Linked DNA regions of Homo sapiens: regions 1 and 3 are each linked to region 2. The links are contacts of gene promoters, found by promoter capture Hi-C in blood cells and fetal thymus (Javierre and others, 2016). All regions are on one chromosome and are shown on one strand. The core of a region is centred on a gene start or on the middle of the fragment in contact, and the rest is flanking DNA. Distances in the headings are between cores, read along the strand shown.

The links. Contacts are between HindIII fragments. The CHiCAGO score rates a contact against its expected background, and 5 or more counts as called.
Region 1: a contact is called between a fragment that was not itself captured here and the fragment with the promoter of GAB1 in region 2, in 2 of 17 cell types (monocytes and total B cells). The highest score is 8.6, in monocytes.
Region 3: a contact is called between a fragment that was not itself captured here and the fragment with the promoter of GAB1 in region 2, in 2 of 17 cell types (monocytes and M0 macrophages). The highest score is 5.5, in monocytes.

The regions. Positions count from the first base shown.
Region 1 is chr4:141,226,214-141,230,403 of GRCh38, forward strand. It overlaps ZNF330 (zinc finger protein 330), which reads left to right. Exons shown (of 10, transcript NM_014487.6): 5 at 554-633; 6 at 3,358-3,484; 7 at 3,953-4,057. Among named protein-coding and RNA genes, the nearest start is that of ZNF330, 7.4 kb to the left of the region's middle. The HindIII fragment of the contact is 2,365 bases long and covers 637-3,001 here.
Region 2 is chr4:143,335,300-143,338,998 of GRCh38, forward strand. It overlaps GAB1 (GRB2 associated binding protein 1), which reads left to right and starts at 1,577. Exons shown (of 10, transcript NM_002039.4): 1 at 1,577-1,961. The coding sequence starts at 1,890. It also overlaps the pseudogene LOC124900789. RefSeq lists enhancers at 384-593, 1,503-2,316 and silencers at 786-953, 894-1,193, 1,294-1,353, 1,424-1,473. The HindIII fragment of the contact is 8,165 bases long and covers 1-3,699 here.
Region 3 is chr4:141,310,900-141,314,478 of GRCh38, forward strand. No RefSeq gene overlaps it. Among named protein-coding and RNA genes, the nearest start is that of LINC02432, 20 kb to the right of the region's middle. The HindIII fragment of the contact is 404 bases long and covers 1,138-1,541 here.

The DNA.
Region 1 (4,190 bases), core at 569-3,068, 2.1 Mb before region 2:
CAAAATTTTGTTGGGAAAATGTTTAACTGGGGGCTTCGTTGTAAATTTTTATGTTTGGATAAAATTACATTAACTCGATAAGTTACATAATCATTATTTGGTTTGGTTTGAGGTATTATTCTGTGGAAAGAAATAACTTCAAACCACAGTTTTTATTGTGAATTATAAAATGTAAAATTTGTTATAAAAAGCATTCCTTTAAAAATTGTTTTGAATAATCTGAAGATTGATAAGTTTTTAAACTGTTAAAATGATCATTAGATTACAAAGCATAACCTGCAATTTCTGATTTAGTACAAATTAGCATATATATTGTATAGTTCATTTTACAGATTTATTAGTAAATGTATAATCTGAAAAGTCTGATTCGAGTAATGAAGTCTCAGTTATATCCATTTTCTCTTTCTAGTTATGTAAGCAGTAAATACTGATTCAATTTCATTAGTTTTTAAATTATTTCCTCAGGAACTTGGGCTGGATAAAAGGAGGAATTCGTGAGTACTGGTATGTATTCCTTTGCAAGACTAACAGTGCAAATGTTTTTCTTCATTAGGGAAAACAAAGTGCATGATGAAGTCTTCAGACTGTGTCATAAAGCATGCTGGTGTATACAGTACTGGCCTTGCAATGGTGGTAAGCTTCTTATTATCTCTTAGACTAGTACGTTTTCAAGGATAAGAAAATGTCATTCTGATCAGTGGTTATTTTTTTCTAAATATCATTGCTTTGTCCCTTGTTTCAATCAATCTGTAGTTATCTGGATTATGAGTGGCATGCTTTTTGTATGATTTTCCCTTAGTACCCACTTGTTTCTAGCTGCTTCTTTCTTTCTTATTAGGGAACATACAAGGCATGGAAACTTTTCATGCTGATCTAAACAGAATTTCATTTCTCAGTGGTACCTTTTTTTTTTTAAATTTTATTATTATTATTATACTTTAAGTTTTAGGGTACATGTGCACAACATGCAGGTTTGTTACATATGTATACATGTGCCATGTTGGTGTGGTGCACCCATTAACTCGTCATTTAGCATTAGGTATATCTCCTAATGCTATCCCTCCCCCATCCCCCCACCCCACAACAGTCCCCGGTTTGTGGTGTGTGATGTTCCCCTTCCTGTGTCCATGTGTTCTCATTGTTCAGTTCCCACCTATGAGTGAGAACATGCGGTGTTTGGTTTTTTGTCCTTGCGATAGTTTGCTAAGAATGATGGATTCCAGCTTCATCCGTGTCTCTACAAAGGACATGAACTCATCATTTTTTATGGCTGTATAGTATTCCATGGTGTATATGTGCCACATTTTCTTAATCCAGTCTATCATTGTTGGACATTTGGGTTGGTTCCAAGTCTTTGCTATTGTGAATAGTGCCACAATAAACATACGTGTGCATTTGTCTTTATAGCAGCATGATTTATAATCCTTTGGGTATATACTCAGTGGTACCTTTCTAATATCTCTTAACCAGACTTCACAAAACAGTATTTAGTGTACCGAAAGCCCTGCTTAACCAACGTTTAAGCCTTTGGTTAAATAAGCAACTTAGTTCCAAACGAACCTAGGATAATAGTGTTCTTTAAAACTTTACATTTCAAAAAAGTGTATATATTTAACATACCTCTTCATTACATATAGGATTTTTTAAAGTAAATTCAGCTTTTTGAATAATAAAACCAACTGGATTATGTGATGTATTTTGCTCTTTTTCCTGAAACATGTTTTCCTTCTAAATATGAGTTAACCAGTTTTACTGTATTGCAGTATGATTTTATGTTCAAATAAAATTTTGTTCAAATTTTAATCTATGAGGAAAATGATACTATATTTATGTCAAATGGAATATTTTATTTATGGTAAATTTCCAAGAACATGTAAACTTCTATTATGAGGGAGACCTATGATATATTTCATATGTGCATATATTATAGAAGCAAGGAGCGAGAATTATCATCTTGTGAATTGCTCTTTATTTTAAGTATAGGATTGTCAAGTTATCTTTATTCAAAAACACTTTCAGTCTTCCTTGGTAGCTTAAGTTCAGCCAAATTCATTTTTTAAAATCACTGTTTTTTGAATGTGAATAATTTCTTCTTACATAAAGAAAACATTTAAGTAGAGTCATATATCTTTAGTTGTAAATTCTAGAAAAGTGATTTTCTGGATATCTTCTATTTGCCTCCCCAGATTCCCCCTGAGAATAGCAGGAGAATAAGATCTGGGTGTTTATTCCTTCATCTCACTCCGTACCAGGTTATCCTGGTTTGGTTTTATCCTTTCTCTAAGGACCACAGTTCTCCCTATATGGCCAGGTAGTCCTCTCCTGTTTGTCCTAAGAACTTCCCTGTCCTCTGCAAATTATCTCTTTAAAACTCTTCTAGATTACCTAGTTTGAGAGTACCATCTCTTTTTTGCAAGAACCCTGGCTGATCCAAGAGATATAGTTGATGATTTGCTAGCTATACTGATAACCCATTTTTGCAAGTCAAAAAACATTCTTCCTATTTGTTGTTTACTACATTTGTTTCAGAGCCTTGAATAATAGAATACTGAATTGAGATTCTGAAATCCTGGCTTTAAATCTCACCTCACCTGTAATCCAACTCGGGACTTGGATTTAGTCTTGGGCCCCATGCTTTTCCTTTATAAAGGAAAGATTGTCTGATCCTACTCTCTTAAGATTCTTTCTAGCTTTTAATATTTGGTAGGTGTCAATGTTTTATTGAAACATATTGTTATTGTCTTTTCTTGATATAGAATTGGAGAATCTTACCCTGTATTTTAGTTCCATATATTTTACTTCAAATTTTTTCCACAAAGAAATGTAATTATTATTAAAACATAAGTTGTCATAAGAGAAAAAAAGAAGCTGGCAGAAGTTTCGTATTTCTCAGTAATTCTAGAAAAGCTATGCAAATATATAGATAAGAAGGTATTTTAAAAATCAGAAATGGTAGTATTTAAAAATTCAGTGTAGTTACAGGAATTATTATAGACAAGAAAGCTTAAGCTGTTGGTTCCTTCAAACTTTATTTGAATTAAATTCATTTTGAGGAAAATACTTCCATCTCTTTGGCTTAATTAAATAATATTAGGATAAGTGTACAGTTTACCTTTTTTTCTTTTGATATGTAACTGAGTTTTGTATATTGTGGATAGCTGTTAAGAAGTTGTTTTTCAGAGAACCCTTTTTATTTTTGGCTTAGAGTGAGTAGTAAAATGTTTAAATGAAGCGGCCTACTATCATTGAGGGTTGATAAATTGCTAAATGTATACAGTTTTGATGGTTGCCGTGGTTAAAGAATGGTTGCAGGTGGTCAGGTGATAATGATTATGTATTCTTGTTCCTTGGTTACAGGGTGCAATATGTGACTTCTGTGAAGCTTGGGTTTGCCATGGTAGGAAATGTCTCAGTACACATGCTTGTGCCTGCCCTCTTACCGATGCTGAGTGTGTTGAATGTGAACGAGGCGTGTGGGACCATGGTGAGTCATTAGACACAAGTAATGAGCTTTGTTATAGGTGAATGTTGACTTTGAAACATTTTGAATGCTGTTTTTGAGATTTTTTTCAGGATACTGTCAATCCTAACTACTGGTACTGTTTTGATTATCAGTGTAGTTAGAGAAGGGATCTATACTGTCTGTTATTGTCAATGCTAGTATTGTTTACCCAAACATGGAGGGAAGTTGTGGTGGAGCAGGTAGTCTCTTTGAGCATTGTGAGTGTTATATGGGTAGCTAGTGGAGAGTAAGAGCCCCCTTTTCTCAGTTTCAGTTCAGTTTCAAGGACTTCAACAGTTTTCATTTTAGCTTTTATCAGAATAAAAATGGCTGAACAATTTTGGTGTATCTCCAAAGTAACTTACCATCTCTTCTAAGCAGTATTATAGATATGAGTTTTTTTAAATTAAAGTTTATCTTAATTACATTTGTGTTTTTTTAATCCAATAGGAGGCAGAATATTCAGTTGTTCTTTTTGCCATAACTTTCTCTGTGAAGATGATCAATTTGAGCATCAAGCCAGCTGCCAGGTTTTAGAGGCAGAAACATTTAAATGTAAGTTTTTAAGTATTAGATGTTCTTTATACCCAAGATTCTGAATAGTATAATTATTAATCTTAATGAAAAAGGAATCAAGTTTTTTTATACTGCTTCTCATGAACTGTAATTTAACTCAGTCTTTATTTTC
Region 2 (3,699 bases), core at 327-2,826:
CAGTGTCGCGATCTCGGCTCACCGCAATCTCCGCCTCCCGGGTTCAAGCTATTTTCCTGTCTCAGCCTCCCGAGTAGCTGGGATTATAGGCGCGCGCCACTACGCCCGGCTAATTTTTGTATTTTTAGTAGAGATTGGGTTTCTCCATGTTGGTCAGGCTGGTCTTGAACTCCCGACCTCAGTTGATCCGCCCGCCTCGGCCTCCCAAAGTGCTGGGATTACAGGCGTGAGCCACCGCGCCCGGCCAAGTGTCCCTCTTCTAGTCCAGCATCCGAACAGTAGATTTCAAACAAATACAAAGTTAAGTGGAATAGGCAACAAATGGAAGGGGTGTGAGACTTCAAAATGTCTCAGAGATAGGACCCAACCAAATCCTTGGCCTCGCCAAGCGCCCCCATCACTCTGGCAGAACAGCTCCAGAGACCAGCCCTGGCCAGCCCTGGGTCCCCATCTGTCCTCCCCTCCAAGCTGGTAGCTCCCGCGCCCTCTTGGTCTGTCCTTTAATCTCGCGCGGCGGGGACCGGCAGGATGGTGGTCTCCCCGCGGTTTTGCCTTTCAGGCTCTCAAGTAAAGAAAACCCTCGAAACTCCTGATCTCGAGCACAGCACAAGCTCCGAGCTGGCACCGGGCTGAGTCAAGATGGCAAGCCCCGGACTGAACATTCGAATGTCCCTCAGTCTTCCCCGCGCCCAAGCCCCGGTGCCTCTGCCCTAGCCGAGGCCTCTGCGGTCTTCCCGGGCGAGGAGCCGATTGGGGGCCGCCGGACGGCGGAGGACCCTGCTCCTGCTTCCCGAACTACAGATCCCAGGGTGCCTCTCGGACTCGCGCTCCCTCCCTCCCTTGCTCCCTCCCTTCGTCCGTCTCCTCCCCCGGCCCTTGTTGTTTTGGCTGGAAGCACTCCGGCGGAGTTTCAGAGAAAGTCTGGGCAGAAACCGGAGCCGGGCCTGAACGTGGGAAGGGGAGGAGGAGAGGGAGGAAGAAGGAGCCCGGCGGCCGGGAGAGGGAGGGAGGGATCGGGATCTGGGGCCGAGCCGCTCAGGACCTGCCGCGAGCCCCGGGGTGGGGGAGGCGGCGGGGGAGGAGCGCGAGGGGACGGGACAGCGGGATCCCTCCCAGGAGCCAAGCCGCCAAGCGCCTCGTTCCTCTGCTGCTCCCCGCCCTCTTCGGCGGCCGCGAGAGCGGACCCACCCTCCGGCTTGACCTGCGACCTCCCTGCGCCCGCCGCTCAGAAACGCCCCGCGCTTCGCTGCCAACCCTGCGGCTCCCTCTGTGACCCGGGACCAGCCCCGCGCCCGCTGCCCGTAGGCGGCTCGCGGCTTCCCCTTTCCTCGGCGTTCACCGAGCGCCGCGAAGTGACCCACCCTCCCCCGAGGAGAGGGAAGGAGGATCGCTCCGGGCGCATCGAAACCGAGGGCGGGTGGGCGGGCGAGCGGGCACCGCGCGGGGCATTGTGTGTGTGTGTGTGTGTGTGTGTGTGTGTGAGCAGCGCTGTGTCTGTTTCGGAAAGCGCTCTGGGGAGGTCTTGTCCCTAGGGGGCGGAGCGCAAAGGACAGAAGCTCCGGCACCGAGTCGGGGCAGAGTCCCGCTGAGTCCGAGCGCTGCTGAGGCAGCTGGCGAGACGGCACGTCTGGAGGCGAGGCGGGCGCACTGAAAGGAGGCCGGCGCGCCCGCGGCCCCGGCTCGCGTTCTGTTCAGGTTCGTGGGCCTGCAGAGGAGAGACTCGAACTCGTGGAACCCGCGCACCGTGGAGTCTGTCCGCCCAGTCCGTCCGGGGTGCGCGACCAGGAGAGCTAGGTTCTCGCCACTGCGCGCTCGGCAGGCGTCGGCTGTGTCGGGAGCGCGCCCGCCGCCCCTCAGCTGCCCGGCCCGGAGCCCGAGACGCGCGCACCATGAGCGGTGGTGAAGTGGTCTGCTCCGGATGGCTCCGCAAGTCCCCCCCGGAGAAAAAGTTGAAGCGTTATGTAAGTAGAGCTGCGGGCACCACTCCGCGGGCCTCGGCGTCCACACCCCTCCCCAGTCGGCTCGCCGGCGGCTGCAGCTGGCCGCGCGCGGGGCTGGTTCTTAAACGAATGCCGGTCTCTTTCCCCTTGGCCCCTACCCCTGGCGGGCTCGGGACAGGGTGCCTTGCACTCCCTCACGCCCAGGCATCCACTTGGCCGGACAACTTTCTTCCTCCAGGTTCCAGACAGCCTGCTTTGCGGGCCTGTTCGCCCCATAAAAGGACCTAGACGTCCAGCTAAACTCCTGCTGCATGCTTTTTTTCTTCCTTAGGAAGGATGGGGTGCGATGGAGAGAGGAGCCTTCTTCCTGCTTTATTCCTGCATCTGATTATTGGGCTGATGTGTGCTAAAGCTCCCGCACCGGGAAAACTGCCGAGGTTTTAGGGCTCACTAGCCCTTTCTTTGGTGGGCGCTCCCTCTCCTCCGCCCCTCGAGATGGGTTGCGGGAAGCGGGCTGTGGAGCTGAGGAGTTGGTAGTAGAGACAAGCATATCGAACGCGCGCAAAAGGGAAAGAAAGAAAAGTTATTACGCGCCCTGCCGTTTGCTTAGCAGGGTTCACATTTTCGCGGTTTTGAATTGAGGGACTTTGGAGTTTGGCCCGGGAGCCTTGGCGGTTTGCTGCGAGAGGAGGGCGCTGGGGGGGAGCCTAGTGGCTGGTGTTTGGGCGCCTTGGATGTGCTGTCAAACTCGGCAGGAGGGGACAGCTGAAGCCAGAAGGGATTTCAGTTGCGGTCCTTTCCCAGGGAACCAGAGTGGCTTTAATGGTGTTTGTGTAATTGATACAAGATGCTATGTGTTAAACCGTTTTAGCTGTTAGGAAAAATATTCCTTGAAAGTATCAACCTTGCTTTAGTGGAAACCTGTGTCCTCTTCAGAGGTCTGGGATCTTATTCTTCCTCCCCATTGGTTGTTTTGTTGCTGCTCCCTTGCAAAGGAAAGAAATGACACTTTTGTGCTGACATCTGGATCAAATATTTTTCTAGTAAAATGTGTTTGCAAAAGCAAAATTTATGCCCCCTTAAATATAATATAAATTTAATGCCTGTACGAAGGGAACCCGTTTGTCGTTGAGGAATATCTACACCCAGTATTAGAGCTCAGGTTAATCCTGTTAGTCACTGTTTGCTTGTATAGAACAGAGTGAAGTACACAGAGTGAAGTATTTAACTTCACTGACAACTCACCAGTGAATTTCTGATTTACTTTCTGCCAGAATTTATTATAGACAAGTAATTTTATTGAAAGACTCGATGCCACAAATCATAAGAAAGCTCTCCAGAGATGTGTAATGCCTCCAAATCCTGTCCATCTATCAGTTTTCCTGAATATCCTAGTAAAAATGCTAACTTTATTCCAAAAATATGAACGAGGCAGTGTTTTTTTTTCCAGCTGTTCTAAAGAGAAAGGTAGGGGTGTGTGTGTGTGTGTGTATGTGACAGAGAAGGAAGGGAGAAAGGGGTAGGGAGATAAATATATTTGTTTTGAGAAGGCCCAATTTAGGAAAAACAGATTCTTGGAGGAATTAAAGAATAACATATTTGCTGAACGTGAAAGTGATAATATAGGTTTAATTCATTCTTTCACATGGTTAGTTCATGGCTCACTCAAAAGACGCCAGGCACTGTATTAGACACCAACCATAAGGTCACAAAATACAGTAGGAAAAAGGAAAAAAGCCCTGCCTCTTGGGCTTAGAAT
Region 3 (3,579 bases), core at 90-2,589, 2.0 Mb before region 2:
GCACATTTTTATTCAGACCCCCAAGAGATTGAATGATGCTCACCTGCATTGGTGAGGGAATCTATGCAGTCTACTGATTCACATGCTAATCTCTTCTAGAAACATTCTCACGGACAAACCTGGAAATAATATCTTACCAGCCACCTGGACATCCCTCAGCCCAGGCAAGTTGATACATAAATTAACCATCACACTGAGCTTCAGTAGCATCACAGAGAGTTTTAATTGGATTTAGCTCTCTTCCTCCATTACCAGAAAGAAGTACCTTGGAGAAAATGGCAGTTTGGCAGAAGTAGCAAGAACCGCACTTGTGATGTATTTTTTTTTTTCATACAAACTTTCTCTCTAATGGTACTTATTAATTTCCAAAAGCCAAATATTTGTGGTCTGACTGCATCAGAATCACTTTGGGGACCTGTTAAAAATACTGATTCCCTAGTCCAATCCCAGAACTCTGGTGCCAGCCTTTCTGGCAGTGAAGCCTGAGGAGTGATGCTCCCACGTGGCTCTGATGGCCAGCCGCCTTAGGGCAGCACTGGCAAATGCTGGCTGATGATGAAACCTTAGACTAAGAAGAAATCTGGTGGTGGGGAGAGTACATTCTTAATTAGGGAAGAAACTACTGGCTGTTAAAAGGTGATATTAGTGACTTTGTCTTTGCAGATCAAACTGCCTATGGTGCCATCTGAAAGATTCCTCCATGAATATTTAGGAGGCACTGGGAGGGTTTCCTGTATTTTTAGTGGGGTGGTGGGGAAGGGGTCACATGGTGAATTTTCACAGCAGTTTTCTTAATCTGATTGTATGTTGAAATGATTTGTTATGGAAATAGGAAAGAGGAAGTACTGTAGTCTCTCACGTGGACTCAACCATATTTTTTTAAAGTAAGATTTTCCTTTTTGTAGAGATGGTTCTTGCTTTGCTGCCCAGGCTGGTCTCGAACTCTTGGCCTCAAGCAGTTTTTCTGCCTCAGCCTCCCAAAGTGGCAAGAAACACTGTGCCAAAGCCTGAGCCATCTTGTGGGACATGGACTCCTGTCTTTCAAGAGTCTTTCATCATCTTTCATGAGCTCCTTTCATGTCCTTCATGAGTCTTTCACCATCTTTCCCCTCAGTGTAGTACAAGGAAAGAGGAACAAGCTTAGCAGCCAGTGATGAAATAAAATCCTGCTGCTGCCACCCGCTAGCTGTGTGACTTTAGCCATGTTCCATAACCTCCCTGAGCATTCATGAATTCACTGGTCAAGCAGGGTTAACTTCTCACTGGTTTTGTGAGAATTAAGTGAGTTAACATACTTAAATATGAACTTAACCAATACTGATTCCCTTGTATAAATCTGTGTCCCTTGTTCCTGGGACAGAACAGGTGCTCCATAAAAGATAGGCAGAGATAGATGAAAGAATGGGTGGTCAGTAACTTGTACAGGACCTCACATCTGTAAGACATGCTAAACTATTTCTGAAAATGGTCTCAGACAAAGTTGTTTTTACCAGAAGTCATCTCAGGCAGTATTTTATGTTTTTGGAAGAAGTTCCTTCATAAGCTTCCTGGAATGGGAGTGGAGTAAGTGAGGGTGTGAATTGCTAGGACTACGAATCCTTTCCTGCCTACACAGTCCCAGTTGATACCTGTTGTAATAGCACCCCCTTTGACACTAGAAAGTATCCCAGGTTGGATACTTAATCACATGGTCATCATATGTAAGGGTCATGCTGAAATAACATTAAGTGGTCACTGAACCATCTTTGGGGAAGAGGGTTTCCTGCAGAGTGCTGGTGGTCCTGAACCAGTGTGTGAGCTTGGTGCTGGCGCAGATTTGTTTGGGTAGTTGAGGAGAAGCTGAGTATTGCCTCTAGCAACTTTCCCCACTGAGTGCTCAGTCCTCCTAAATACACCCTGAACAAAATAGTAGTTTTAAGGAGCACTAACAGACCCACAGTTCAGGCTAGCCCAGATGGGGCTACAACTATTTGCTACCTCAATAATTAGGTGGTAGAGTTATTTATCAGAAAGAGAAATGGGCTAAGCACCAGGGAGTCCAAACTTTAGGCTTCACGGTTATTTAAGCTGTGTCTGATTTACTTTTGTCAGTCGCATTTAGCTGCTGTCATTGCATGTGCTTCTGAGAGGCTGCAGCCAGCCCTGGGTGATGTCCCATGGAACTTTCCTGGGAGTTACAGTGAATAAATTTTGAGACACCTTAACAGCTCCTGGGGCTGCTCTACTCCTTTCTGTATTTCAAGAATTTTCCAAATAATTGGGCTGTTGGGTAAGTGTGGTCTAGTTTCATTGGCGAGGTGTGGCAATGGTTTAACACTGCACCGTGTTCTGCTGGAAAAGTGGGACATAGACCTGTGGCCTCTCCTTTCTCTATCTGTGCTCACTCCCTGGATAATCTCTTCTGATCTCAAGAATTTCATGCCACCTCCATATAGCTGACTCCCAAATGTATACCCTCAGGATGGAACTATTCCCAGAATCACAGGTTTGTATATATAGCGGTGTATTTGATATTTCTTCACAGATGGCTAATAGACATTTCAAACTTATTATGTCCAAAATTAAACTCAATGTTACCCCAAACCTCAAGTTTTTTCCATCTCATTCCCTGGGAATTCCATTCTCCCAGTTGTTCAGGCAAAAAAATCTTAGAGTCATCTTTGAATTCTCTCTTTCACTCGTACTACATTTAACATGTTAGCAAATCTTATCCATTTTACCTTTGAAATCTGTCCACAATTCAACAACTTTCAGTTATCTTCACTGCTTCTACTTTGGTCTAAGCCACCCTCAGGCATTGTCAAGATTATTTCAGGAGTCTCCCAGTTGATCTTTTTGCTTTCACCCTTGGTCCTCTCACAGTCGGCTGCAGCCAGAAAGATCCTGTTAAATGTAATTCACATAATGTCCCTACTCTTTTTTTCTAAAATCCTCCAGTGGTTCACAGGGACTGAACTGTTCTCTCTCCTACTTCCTCCATCCCAACTCTCTAAGATCATATACTGATTCTATGCCTCCCTGGCTCTGCTGTAGCTGCATTGGCCTCTGCTGTTTATAGAATAGGAACACACATTTCCACTAGAAGATTCCCACCAGGTGAGCTTCTGCCCCGGTCTCTATCCTTGCTCTTTCCTCTGCCTGGAATGCTTCTCCTTGAGGTATCCTCTCCATTCATCCCTGCCCCCTTCATGCCCTTATTCAGATATGGGCTTCTCGCTCTAAAGTTGCACCCACTCTTCTCACTCCTCTTCCCCTTTCTTCCTTTATTGTTCTTCTTAGCACTGGTCACCATTTAACATATTTTATATTTTTTATATATACATATATATACACACACACACACATATATATACACACACACATGCACACACACATTATATATAATTTATATATTATATATAAAATTGTTTGTGCTCCTCAACTTAAACATGAGCTCTGAGGGCAGTGATTTCTTCTGCTGCTTAATCTGTTTGAGTAACTGCTATAGTTTCAGGATTTAGTAAAGTGTCTGACATGAGTAGTTTCTCAAATACATTTGCTGAAGGAATTAATGAGTGAGACCTCCCGAATTCAACTGAG